2 separate regions of the Homo sapiens genome follow, and region 1 is linked to region 2. Evidence: promoter capture Hi-C in 16 types of primary human blood cells and fetal thymus (Javierre and others, 2016). All regions are on one chromosome and are shown on one strand. The core of a region is centred on a gene start or on the middle of the fragment in contact, and the rest is flanking DNA. Distances in the headings are between cores, read along the strand shown.

Region 1 (6,387 bases), core at 849-3,348, 810 kb after region 2:
GCGTGCTGCCTGGTTCCTCCTTGCTGCAGGGGGCGCCAGACTCCGGGAGGACTGAGGATGAGGGTCGTGTATTTTCCCCTCCAAGGTCACAAGCCCCCTGGATTCCCTGGGCAGAGAGCCCACACTGTAACAGGGCGCTTTTGGGATCGGCCCCTACGAAAGTGTCCCAAACCTGGCGGCTTGCACAGCAGAAACGCACTCTTAGCACGAGCCCAGAAGTCTGGAATCAAGATGTCTGCAGACCCGAAGTCTCTCCAGAGGCTCTAGCAGGGGCCCCTCCTGCCTCTCCCAGCGTTCCGGGGTGGCCAGCAGTCCTGGATGTCGCTGGACTGCGAGCTCAGCCTCCCGAGCAGCTGGGATTACAGGCGTGTGCCACCACCCCCGGATAATTGTTTTAATTTTTATTTTTAGTAGAGGTGGGGTTTCAGCATGTTAGCCAGGCTAAGGCATTGCTTCTATCTTTTTTTTTTTTTTTTTTTTGAGATAGACTCTCTGTCTGTTGCCCAGGCTAGGGTGCAGTGCCATGATCTCGGCTCACTACAGCCTCCGCCTCCTGGGTTCAATAATTCTCCCTGCCGCAGCCTCCTGAGTGGCTGGGATTACAGGGACTCACCACCACGCCCGGCCAATTTTTGTATTTTTAGTAGAGACGGGCTTTTGCCATGTTGGCCGGGCTGGTCTCAAACTCCTGACCTCAGGTAATCCGCCCGCCTCAGCCTCCCTAAGTGCTGGGATTACAGGCGTGAGCGACCGCGCCCGGCCACGTATTCTAACCAGCACCATCCAGTAGAACTTTCTATGATGTTGGGAATTTTCCGCATCTGCCAACAGCTGTGTGTGCTACTGAACACTTGAAGCTGGTGAAAGGGAAGAACTGAATATTTCAATTTAAGGACTATGTGTGGCCAGTGAGGTCTACCATACAGAGGTTGTTTAGAAACTGCCCCAAAACCGGCCGGGCACAGTGGCTCACGCCTGTAATCCCAGCACTTTGGGAGGCTGAGGCGGGCGGATCACGAGGTCAGGAGATGAGACCATCCTGGCTAACACAGTGAAACCCCGTCTCTACTAAAAATATACAAAAAATTAGCCGGGTGTGGTGGCGGGCGCCTGCAGTCCCAGCTACTTGGGAGGCTGAGGCAGGAGGATGGAGTGAACCTGGGAGGCAGAGCTTGCAGTGAGCCGAGATCGAGCCACTGCACTCCAGCCTGGGCGACAGAGCGAGACTCCGTCTCAAAAAAAAAAAAAAAAAAAAATGCCCCAAAACTCATGTCTCTGGTCTCTGGTGTGTGGCCACCTCATGTCACAGCATGTCTTCAGCTGCAGGACTATGGGGTGGGAGGATGTAAGGGAATTTTTTTCCCTTTGGAATAGTCTGTTACAGTTACAGGCCACTCTTAAGCAGCCACTGGGTCAAAGGAGAAATTGCTCAGAACAGGGATGTCAGGAAAAATGAATACAAGAAAAAAATTATATATATATGTTATTTTATATATATATATATATGTGTGTGTGTGTATATTTTAAGACAGAGTCTCCAAGTCTGTCGACAGCAAAGTTTCTGTCTCCCAGGCTGGAGTGCAGTGGTGAGATCCCGGCTTACCGCAATTTCCGCTTTCTGCGTTCAAGTGATTCTCCTGCCCCAGGCTCCCAGTAGCTGAGATTACAGGCATGTGCCACCACGCCCAGCTAATTTTTTTTTTTTTTTGTATTTTTAGTGGAGGGAGCACAGGCATGAGCCACCACGCCCAGCTAATTTTTTTTTTTTTTTTTTGTATTTTTAGTGGAGATGGGGTTTCACTATGTTGGCCAGGCTGGTCTTAAACTCCTGACCTTGTGATCCTCCTGTCTTGGCCTCCCAAAGTGCTGGGGTTACAGGCATGAGCCACTGTGCCTGGCCAAAAATTAAATGAAAAAAAAAAAAATTGCAGGGGATATTTAAGCTATACATGGCTGGGCGTGGTGGCTCACACCTGTAATCCCAGCACTTTGGGAGGCCGAGGCGGGTGGATCCCCTGAGGTCAGGAGTTGGAGACCAGCCTGGCCAACAGGGCGAAACCCCATCTCTACTAAAAATACAAAATAATTAGCTGGGTGTGGTGGCATGTGCCTGTAGTCCCAGCTACTCAGGAGGCTGAGGCAGGAGAATCGGTTGAACCCGGGAGGCGGAGGTTGACAGTGAGCTGAGATTGCGCCACTGCACTCCAGCCTGGGCGACAGAGCGAGACTCTATCTAAAAAAATAATTAAATAAAATTTCCAAAGAAGAAGTAAACTATGAAGTTCGAAAACACTTGGAGATAATGAAAATGAAAACACCACCTGTCAGAAGTCCTGGGATGCAGCTGACACAGTGCTCGCAGGGTAATTTATAGTCACAAAATGCCTATATTCGGAAAGGTGATGGCCGGGCGCGGTGGTGCACACCTGTCATCCCAGCACTTTGGGAGGCTGAGGCTGGCGGATCACGATGTCAGGAGTTCGAGACCAGCCTGGCCAGCATGGTGAAACCCCGTATCTGCTAAGAATACAAAAAATTAGCTGGTGTGGTGGCGTGTGCCTGTAATCCCAGCTACTCAGGAGGCTGAGGCAGGAGAAGTGCTGGAACCTGGGAGGCAGAGAACCCGGCCCAGCTGAGATTGTGCCACTGCACTCCAGCCTGGGCAACAGAGCAAGACTCCATCTTGGGGGGAAAAAAAGTGAAACATCTCAGACCAAATACGTCACCTTTCACCTTAGGAAACTAGAAGAAGAAGCTGTCACTAAACCTAAAGCAAGTAGATGAGAGGAAGTTACAAAGATTAAAACAAATCGATGAAATGGAAGGCAGAAACAGCAGAGAACAGTCAAGCCAAGTCAGTCCTTTGAAAAGATCCACACAATTGACAAATCTGGAGGTTTAACAAGCTGCCTCCCAGAGGAACGTGAACCTCCCACAGTCCCACCTGGCGGGCCATGCGGCTGCCTCTGCAGGTGGAGCTTGTGTGTCAGAACCTCAGGGGGATGCATCGGTCTGCCCAGCTGGCCACTCCTGCCTGGTGACCCTGTCCCCTGCTGAGCTGGTGGCTACAGAGAAGGGGTCTCCAGGGAGCAGGGAGGATGTGGAGGTTGGGCCATCCCCCCAGACCCTCACCCTGGCTTGGTCTCCCAGGGTGCCTTCAAGGAGCTGGTATATGTGTTATTCATGGTGAAGGATGCCGGCTTGACTCCGGACCTGCTGTCCTATGCGGCTGCCCTCCAGTGCATGGGGAGGCAGGACCAGGACGCCGGGACCATCGAAAGGTAGGTGGTGTCGGGAGGGCCCCCACCCCCCACCATGTCCCTCCCAGGGTTTTAAGATCTGGGACGGTGCCTGGGCTGGGGGCTGGGGACCCCCAGAGGGCCTGACAGCCACACCGAGACCTGCAGGCTAGCAGGAGGTGGTCACGAGGTTCCCCTGGGGTCTGTGGAAGCCCAGCGTGGGGCTGGCCCGTCCCTCGAGCAGGCCGCCTGCACCACAGGTGTCTGGAACAGATGAGCCAGGAGGGGCTGAAGCTGCAGGCACTCTTCACCGCCGTTCTGCTGTCTGAGGAGGATCGGGCCACTGTTCTGAAGGCCGTGCACAAGGTGAAGCCCACCTTCAGCCTCCCGCCGCAGCTGCCGCCCCCGGTCAACACCTCCAAGCTGCTCAGGGACGTGTATGCCAAGGTGAGCCCACGTGGGCCCCGGCAGACTTCAGTCCTTATAGCTGCCCTTTGGGGGTTCCTGGAGCCTCAGCTCAGACCAATGGGCCTCCCCGGTGCCCAGGGCTCACCTGGGCTGGGCCCTGAATTCCTCCCTTCCTCCTCTGAGAAGATGGGAGGACCCAGAGCTGGGAGGGTCTTGGCCCTGAGGGTGTGGGCTCAGGGGGACGAGGTGGTCGGGGGCCGCAGAGAGAGGGTGGGGTGACAGGAGAGCAGTGCGTTTGAGTGGGGCTGCCAGGTGCACGCAGTGGGCTCGTCTGTTACTGAGGTGTAATTCACCTGCCATAAAACCCTCTTAAAGGTGTAATTCAGCGATTTTAGTGTAGTCACGGTTGTCTAATTCTAGAATGTTCCATCACCCTAAAAGGAAGCCTCGTCCCCATCCCCGTCACTCCCCATCCCCTCCCCATCTGTGGATGAGTCTGCTCTGGACATTCCATAGAAATGGGACCACACACTGCGAGACCTTTTGTGTTTGGCATCTCCCACTGAGCGTGACGTCCTCATGGTGCCTCCGGGAGGCGACCTGGGTCAGGGCTGAGTCATGCTCCGGTGCGTGGATGGCCGCGCCGTGCCCGTCTGTTCGTCCGTTTATGGGACGTTGGGCTGTTTCTACTTATCGACTGCGAGTCATGCAGCTGTGAACGTTTGTGTACAAGCTTTTATGTGGACGTGCGTCTTTGATTCTCAAAGCGCTAGGCTTTAGTTGTTATTTTTAATTCATCTATTTCTGGATGGGTCACATTCATACAGTTCTGAGTTTGAGGAGAAAACAGCCAACATCTGGGGGTGCAGTGAACGGTCTCCCCAGGCTCTGCCAGCTCCCAGCATCACCGCCCCTGCCACCCCCTGCACGGTGCCCAGTGTCCCTTCTAGAGGGGTCGAGGCCAGGAGGGTCAAGGCCTTTGGTTTGCACTGCTGGCACTGACTTTACCCGCAGCCCGCCTTTCCCCGCGTCAGCGATAGCCACCAGCAACTTGCAGGAGACGCAGAAACGCGTGCACCCATGCTGTCTCGGGGTCCTGGGAGGGCAGGTCGCCCTCTGGCAAGCCCCCAACCTCACTACCCCCATCCCTGCAGGATGGGCGTGTGTCCTACCCGAAGCTGCACCTGCCCTTGAAGACCCTGCAGTGCCTCTTTGAGAAGCAGCTCCACATGGAGCTGGCCAGCAGGGTGTGCGTGGTGTCCGTGGAGAAGCCCACGTTGCCAAGCAAGGAGGTCAAGCACGCGGTAGGGGCTGAGCCGGGGTCCCGTGTCCGCCGCAGGGGCTGAGCCGGGGTCGCGTGTCCACCGCACGGGCTGAGCCGGGGTCCCGTGTCCGCCGCAGGGGCTGAGCCGGGGTCGCGTGTCCGCCGCAGGGGCTGAGCTCCGTGTATGCGGTTGAATTGCTCATGCCCTGGTCTGGTCATGCAGGGCCTAGGAACTCAGCCTGGCTGCCGCTCAGGGAAAACTTGTGGGGTCCCGAGGTTGGGTCTTGGCCTGTGCTTCTGCGCACACTGCAGCTGGGCTTTTGCTCTTGGCTGCGTCAGGCACGCTGAAGCCGGCAGAGGGCAGGCCGGGGTGAGGAGCTACCCGGAACACACAGCAGGGACCTTGAGGGCCATGAGGTCTCTGCAGGGAGCTGCGGTGACCCCCGTCCTGTGAGCCTGGGTCCCACCAGCTGCCACGGGGCTCACCGGGCCCGTTCATCCCCCGCAGCGGAAGACCCTGAAGACCCTGCGGGACCAATGGGAGAAAGCACTGTGCCGGGCGCTGCGGGAGACCAAGAACCGCCTAGAGCGCGAGGTGTACGAGGGCCGGTTCTCACTTTACCCCTTCCTGTGCCTGCTGGACGAGCGCGAGGTGGTGCGGATGCTCCTGCAGGTGCGTCTTCCTCCGCGCGGCCGGGTCCCCGGGCGGGGCGGGCAGGCACTCACGGCTGCCTTCCGCAGGTCCTGCAGGCGCTGCCCGCCCAAGGTGAGTCCTTCACCACCCTGGCCCGGGAGCTGAGTGCGCGCACTTTCAGCCGGCACGTGGTGCAGAGGCAGCGGGTCAGTGGCCAGGTGCAGGCGCTGCAGAACCACTACAGGAAGTACCTCTGCTTGCTGGCCTCCGACGCCGAGGTGAGGCTCGCACCCCCTCTCCTCCTGGCTGGGGCCAGTGGTGGGTGGGCGCTCTCCCTCCCTGGAGCAGCCGGGTTTGCACCCAAGCTTCAGTCTGTTCATCTGTATGCTTGGGCTGACAGATGCCCCACCGGGCGTCAGGCACGGGCGGTGGGGCATCTAGCTCAGGGGCCCCGGTGCCCAGCGCCCTGACCGCCCTGTCCTACAGGTGCCCGAGCCCTGCCTGCCGCGGCAGTACTGGGAGGAGCTGGGGGCGCCCGAGGCCCTGCGGGAGCAGCCCTGGCCCCTGCCAGTGCAGATGGAGCTGGGCAAGCTGCTGGCGGAGATGCTGGTGCAGGCTACGCAGATGCCATGCAGCCTGGACAAGCCGCATCGTTCCTCTCGGCTTGTCCCCGTGCTCTACCACGTGTATTCCTTCCGCAACGTCCAGCAGGTGCCAGGCAGTGCCCTCCTGAGCTGGGGGGCATCCCGCTGGGAGGACCAGGGACCCCATGGGGTTGGCGCCTTTGGGCGGAGCCTTGATCTCAGCGCAGCCGTCAGTACCTCCCAGGACTCGGGACACAC
Region 2 (6,315 bases), core at 1-2,500:
AGGCGGGAGGGTCGCTTGAGCCCAGGAGTTCAAGACCAACCTGGACGACACAGAGAAACGCTGTTTCCACAAATAATCAAAAATCAAGGTCGGGCGCGGTGTTCACGCCTGTAATCCCAGCACTTTGGGAGGCCGAGGCAGGTGGATCACCTGAGGTCAGGAGTTTGAGACCAGCCTGGGCAACACTGAAACTCGTCTCTACTAAAAATACAAAAATTAGCCGGACGTGGTGGGGGGGCCCTCTAATCCCAGCTACTCGAGAGGCTGAGGCAAGAGAATCGCTTGAACCCGGGAGTGGGAGGCTGCAGTGAGCTGGGACGGAGCCATTGCACTCCAGCCTGGGCGACAGGATGAGACTCCGCCTCAAAATAATCAAAAATTAAAAAATAAAAGCGCAAGCCAGATGCCCACCACCACCCTGCCTGGAAAGGACCCAGCGACCTCCACCGCCCTTAAAATCTAAGGAGTCTAACGCAGCCCCTTATTCTAAGTCACGTGGGCTACAGACAGGGGCTACACCTTCCAACTAAGCCGCGGAAAAGTGAACAACGGGGGGCAGGTTGCAAATAAGCAAAAACCTCAACGTCTCTGGACAGTTTTCTGGGCGCAAGACCACACTCAGTTCCAAACCCGCGCGGAGACCGTGCCCGCCCACCGCCGCAGAGGCGCTTGGACCCCCGCCCCGCCGCCCTCACCCGGACAAGCCCCACCGCTGGCCCAGCCCCTGCCCGCGACCCCCGCGGCCGCCCTTACTAGGACATGTCCAGCAGCTGGTCGAGGTCCACGCCGCGGTAGGTGAACTTGCGGAAGGTCCGCTTCTTCTTCTGCTCTACTTCTGCCTGTGCGGGCGCGGATCGGGCGTCAGCGGGATCCCGACACCCATCTCCCGGGGCCACCGGGCCCGAGGACACCGCGGAAGACGCGCGGCGCCGCCGGGGACAGAAGCCCGACAGGGACACACCGCTTCGACCCGTCCCCGGGGATCACTCGCGGCTCCGGGTTACGAGGACCCGGACATGAAGGCCCGGACAGGCCTTCCCAGCCCCGCGTCGTCCCGACACCCACCAAGTCCGCCCCTCGCCCCAACATCCAGCCGCCTGCAGGGTCGGGAGCAAGCCGCCGTAGCCGCGGGGACGAACTGCGGCCCCCGCGAGACGGTCAGAGGTTGGATGGAGCCGGATAGGCCCGGCAGAGACGCGCCAAATCGCAACACTCACCATCTTGCCGGATCCTCAGAAGAGATCGCTTTGGTCCGCGCCTGCGCAGTTATCGCGAGACTGCCGGCATGTCCCGCCCCCTCGGCCGTGCGCGCACACGCGCTTCCGCTTTCCCGGCGGCGAACACGCGCCCTCTGCCGTCTGGAGGGCAAAACACAGGCTGCAGGGATTAGAGCAGCCGCCGCCTGAGGTCTGCAGAGCCGCTTCCTCCACGGAGTGGGACTTTGGACAAGTCGCCGCCCCTGTCTGAGCCTCGGGTTCGTGCTCCGTCATCTACACGATGGCACCCACATCAACAAGTATTTATGGAGCGCCTACCGTTTGCTCGTAGGTGCGGTTTGGCGGTTCAGGTCCCACTGTGGGAGGAACACGAGAATTCATTACAGATACTGGAGCAGGGACAGGGCCTCGCTGAAAAGAACCATTCCGGCTTTAACAGATAAAATTTTGTATATAAAGTTAGTAAGGACAACACAGTGAGACTGCCTCTCTACAAAAAAATACAAAAATTTGTGTACACACGGACATAAAAGAATAAAAAGTACAAAAAATTCCCAGCTACTCGGGAGGCTGAGCCTTCAGCCCAGGAGGTCAAGGCTGCAGTGAGCCGTGATCGCGCCAACGGCACTCCAGCCTGGGCGACAGAGCAAGACCCTGCCTCAAAAATAAAGTTAGGAATATCACTGGGTTTGTTAAGATATGTAAATGTAATGTGAATAATGATAGCTCAAAGAGAAGGAGTAACTAGAACTATGTAGGAGTGACTTTTTTTTTTTTTTGAGACAGAGTTTCACTCTTGTTGCCCTGGCTGGAGTGCAGTGGTGTGATCTCGGCTCACTGCAACCTCTGCCTCCTGGGTTCAAGCGATTCTCCTGCCTCAGCCTCCCAAGTAGCTGGGATTACAGGCACCTGTTACCGTGCCCGGCTAATTTTGTATTTTTAGTAAAGACACGGTTTCTCCATGTTGGCCAGGCCATGTTGGTCTCGAACTCCTGACCTCAGGTGATCCACCCGCTTTGGCCTCCCAAAGTGCTGGGATTACAGGCGTGAGCCACCGCGCCTGGCCTAGGAGTGATGTTTCTGTATCTTACTGGAATTAAGTATAAAGTTGAAGGTGACTATTAACTATGGATGTGGCACCTGGCTGGGCGTGGTGGCTTATGCTTGTAATTCCAGCACTTTGGGAGGCCGAGGCGGGCGGATCACCTGAGGTCAAGAGTTCAAGACCAAGCTGACCAACCCTAACTCTACTAAAAATACAAAAAATTAGCCAGGCGTGGTGGTGGGTGCCTGTAATCCCAGCTCCTTGGGAGGCTGAGGCAGGAGAACCGCTTGAACCCGGGAGGCGGAGGTTGCAGTGAGCTGAGATCGCACCACTGCACTCCAGCCTGGGCGACAGAGACTCCTTCTCAAAAAAAAAAAAAAAAAAAAAAAAGAAAAAGAAAAAAAAAAAGCACAAAACCTCTGGGAACCCGAGCTTAGCTGTGGCACTGTCCAGGGAGCTGAGCTCTCCCCAGCCGTCCCCACAGTCCCAAGGGAAGCCAATTACACTGTACTCAGGGAGGGCTGAGTCTCCGTCCCGAGGAGCACAGGACCTATGTGTCGGGCCCGTCCATGTTACCCATTTTCCTGCAGCAGAGTGTCCTGGCTGGAAAGCTGATTTTGTGAGTGCTGCTCTTTGGCTGGGGGAGCTAATGTAACGGGAGGGGCTGACACTCAACACCATGATGACCTGTGGTGTGGATAGACAGCCGCCCCCGCCTGGCCCTCCTGGGAGCTGGGGCAGCAGCTCCTGAGGACATGGGAGAAGGCTCTGACGGCAGGGAATGGAGCTGGCTTCCTGGGCTGAGGCGTTGAGGGGTACTGTCTCAGTGAGGAAACTGCACTGCACAGGGATGTTGGGGGTACCCCTTCTCTTGGTTCTCTCCAAACTAAGTCAAACCTTCCCTGTCCCCAAAATATGAACTGGGGCGGGGGGGGGTGGTTCTGGCTGTCGCCTGAACAGTCTCACGCCTGGCACGCTGTAGGCTTCCAGTTTGGGACTTCATGGTCCTTTTTTTTTCTTGTTTTGTTTTTTGAGACGGAGTTTCGCTCTTGTTGCCCAGGCTGGAGTGCAATGGCGCAATCTCGGCTCACTGCAAGCTCCGCCTCCCAGGTTCAAGCGATTCTTCTGCCTCAGCCTCCCAAGTAGCTGGGATTACAGGCATGCACCACCACACCCGGTTAATTTTTGTATTTTTAGTAGAGACGGGGTTTCTCCATGTTGGTCAGGCTGGTCTCGAACTCCCGACCTCAGGTGATCCGCCCGCCTCGGCCTCCCAAAGTGCTGGGATTACAGTCGTGAGCCACCGCGCCCGGCCCTTTTTAAGTCTCGCCTTCCCTGCCACAGTGACAGAGTATCCCTTTCCAAAGATGCCCCTGTCCTAATCCCCAGAACCTGGGGATATGTCACCTTCCATGGCAAAAGATATGATTAAAGGTCTTGAGATGGGAAAAGCCTGGAGCCCACATTCCCCGAGAAAACTGGTGGTGGCCACATCCTCAAAGTCACAGCATCCCAAGACCCACTGAGGGATGGGCCCAGCTCGCCACTCAGCCTCTGCCCTGAAGCCCTCGGGGTTGCTGAGACCACCAAGAGCCAAGGGGAGGGCGAGGGCGCCTCCGTCGCGTTTCAGACCTTTCCTAGGCACTGGAAGGGTAGGCACAGGCCAAGACCAAGGAGGGAAAAAACGGACACAAAGTGGTTTCTAATCCAAACGCACTTCTCTTTATTCAAACCAGGGTCAAACTGGTCAATGGGAAACGCCCTGAAGCCACGTGCCTGGGGAGAAAGGCTTCCTACTCGGTTCGGTTCAGCGCTGCGTGGGATCCACGCGGCTGGCTGTGCGCAACCCCCACAGTTCACCTCAGACACTACCAAGCAGGTCAGTCGACAAAAGCAAGGAATTAAACAAAAAACAGAAATACACTCAGTAGATTTCTTCTAGAAGCTCCCAGAGTTTCTGGACCACCAAGTCCCAACCCCCAAAGCCAGGAGCGAGGGGACTAACAGCGCACCCCCTCCACCAGTGCCGACGGAAACCCCGTTTTAAATTAAAAAATAAGCCAGTATACATCGTAGAAAATTTCTCTTAAAAATCTCACAATTTGTAAATGTATATTTTTTCTTTAACATAAAAGTTTACAATATACCGTAAAACAAAAGGCTCAGGAAAATAATTTCCAAAAAAAAGGAAGAAAAAGAAACCTGAAGTTTTGAATTAAAGCTGAAGACATTTTTTTTAAACCCTGTTGTTGAACCAGTGACTTTTTTTTATTGTGCTGATGGGTTAGAGAAAGAAATATTTAAAAACCTCAGTCCAGACGACACCCACAGCCGCTCCAAAAGCCTCGCGCCCTCCCCCCGCCCCCCCCCCCAAGGTTGAGTCGCCACTTTGCCGCCAAGTTTGTGATTGTCACGAGTTCACAAGTTTGGAATCCTGGGTCTGGGCCGTGCAGACGTCGCGGCGCCGCGGGCTAGCGTCGGTAGGGGTGGAACCCTTGCACGTTGTGGTTCTGCCCTCGTCCAAAGCCGCTGCCGCCGGCGGGGGGGCCCCCCGACCCTGGCACGGAGGGACCCCCGTAGGAAGGAGGCTGCTGGCTGGGGTCTGAGAAGCCCTGTCCGAAGCCACTCAAGTCCTGCCCGTAACCTGCTGGGGGAGAAAGTCCTGTGAGCTCGGGGCGGTCCCTGGGCGGTTGGCACTGCCGTCGAGCGAGGCCACCTGGACACAGCTCCGCCGAGCCTGCCTTGAGTCCACGGGTCCCACGGGGTGCGGGTGGGGCCCTTCTGAGGCCAGCACCTGGGCCGGGGAGAGGACCCCGGGCATGTTCTCTCCCTCAAAAACATGTGAGCAGGGGCACACACAGAGAAAAGCGGCTTCCAGAGCCCTCCATGGCCCACGTAACCTCACCGCTTCCCTGTTCAATCCCGAAGACGTGGTTGGGGGGGTGAGGGGAGGTAGAGAAGCCTCGGGGCTTGGAGACACACATGGCCCAAGGCACGGTGGACCAGGCTTCTAGAAAGCTGGCTCTCGGAGTTTCAGAAAACCCCTGACGGGCCCTTGCAGCGATACAGGGCCTGCCCCTCCGTCGCAGACCAGACCCCACGTTGTCCTTCCTGTCAGGGCACGTCCATCGGTGGCACGTGTCAGGGAAGGGTTTCTGGGCCCAACCTGACTGCCCCAGTGACACCACTGGCTGAGGGGCCAGCACACCCTGCAGCCCGTCCGGCCCACACAGCCGACCTCAGGAGCATGGACAGCGGTGTCTTTACAAGGACAGAGCTGCTCACGCCGCTCCCCACCCCGCTGCACACCTTGCAGGAAGCCCCTCCCACGACCTCTGGGTTCCCATTCGGGTGCACGTGGGCACAGGTGGGCGTGGGCTCTCTCTGGGGGATCCTGGGCCCGCTGAAGGCTTGTGGCCAATGTCTTGGCACCGGCAAGGGCCCCTTCCCAGAGGGCACCGCCAGCGTCCACCCCCGCCCGGGACGGCAGAGGAAGCCACGTCCACCTCCCGGTGCAGGCGGGTGGGAGGACCCTGGAGAAGGAGGCGGCACCTACCTAGGCCACATCACTGCTCAGCCTGACCATAAGACTGTAAACAAAGTGTGGGCCGCAGCCCGGCGGGGCTGGAGAATAGGAACCCAGGCCTGGCAAGAGACGAGACCAGGGTGACCAACCCAAGCAGCCGCCACCAAGAGCAGCGGCTGACACACGCCACGCCCCAACCGGGCGCCTCACACCCCCCTGCCAGTCTCAGACACGCCAGGGTTTGGTGGTGAGTGGGTCAAGAACCCACACATGCGGCAACCTCGGCCCAAGGCCTGGGCGTGGGGGCAGGGGAACCACAGCCATGCGAGGTGGGTGGGCGGGCACCTCGGCCGAACACAGCTCCCACACCCCGGCCTCCACCAGGCCTAGAGGAAGCGTGTTCACAGGCACCCCGGAAGCCCGTGGCCACCTGCAGACAGGTGCCCCATGTTCTCAAACCCTGCTTGTGAATGACCCCTGGTGCTGGAGGAGCTGACCGTAGTTGGAGCCCTGCCCACTGAGGCCAC

Evidence for each region. The method cuts DNA at HindIII sites, captures the fragments that hold promoters and counts their contacts. A CHiCAGO score of 5 or more calls a contact.
Region 1: a fragment that was not itself captured here is called in contact with the fragment with the promoter of RPS15 in region 2 in 1 of 17 cell types (neutrophils); the score reaches 7.6 in neutrophils.

The regions. Positions count from the first base shown.
Region 1 is chr19:622,018-628,404 of GRCh38, reverse strand. POLRMT (RNA polymerase mitochondrial) reads left to right here. Exons shown (of 21, transcript NM_005035.4): 4 at 3,151-3,281; 5 at 3,500-3,686; 6 at 4,802-4,951; 7 at 5,420-5,584; 8 at 5,653-5,823; 9 at 6,032-6,256. Among named protein-coding and RNA genes, the nearest start is that of POLRMT, 8.3 kb to the left of the region's middle. The HindIII fragment of the contact is 4,568 bases long and covers 1-4,382 here.
Region 2 is chr19:1,433,331-1,439,645 of GRCh38, reverse strand. It overlaps RPS15 (ribosomal protein S15), which reads right to left and starts at 1,250. Exons shown (of 4, transcript NM_001018.5): 1 at 1,218-1,250; 2 at 754-839. The coding sequence starts at 1,220. DAZAP1 (DAZ associated protein 1) reads right to left here. Exons shown (of 12, transcript NM_018959.4): 12 at 3,962-4,909. The coding sequence ends at 4,734. RefSeq lists enhancers at 1,007-1,226, 635-1,505, 4,882-5,385. The HindIII fragment of the contact is 15,360 bases long and covers 1-6,315 here.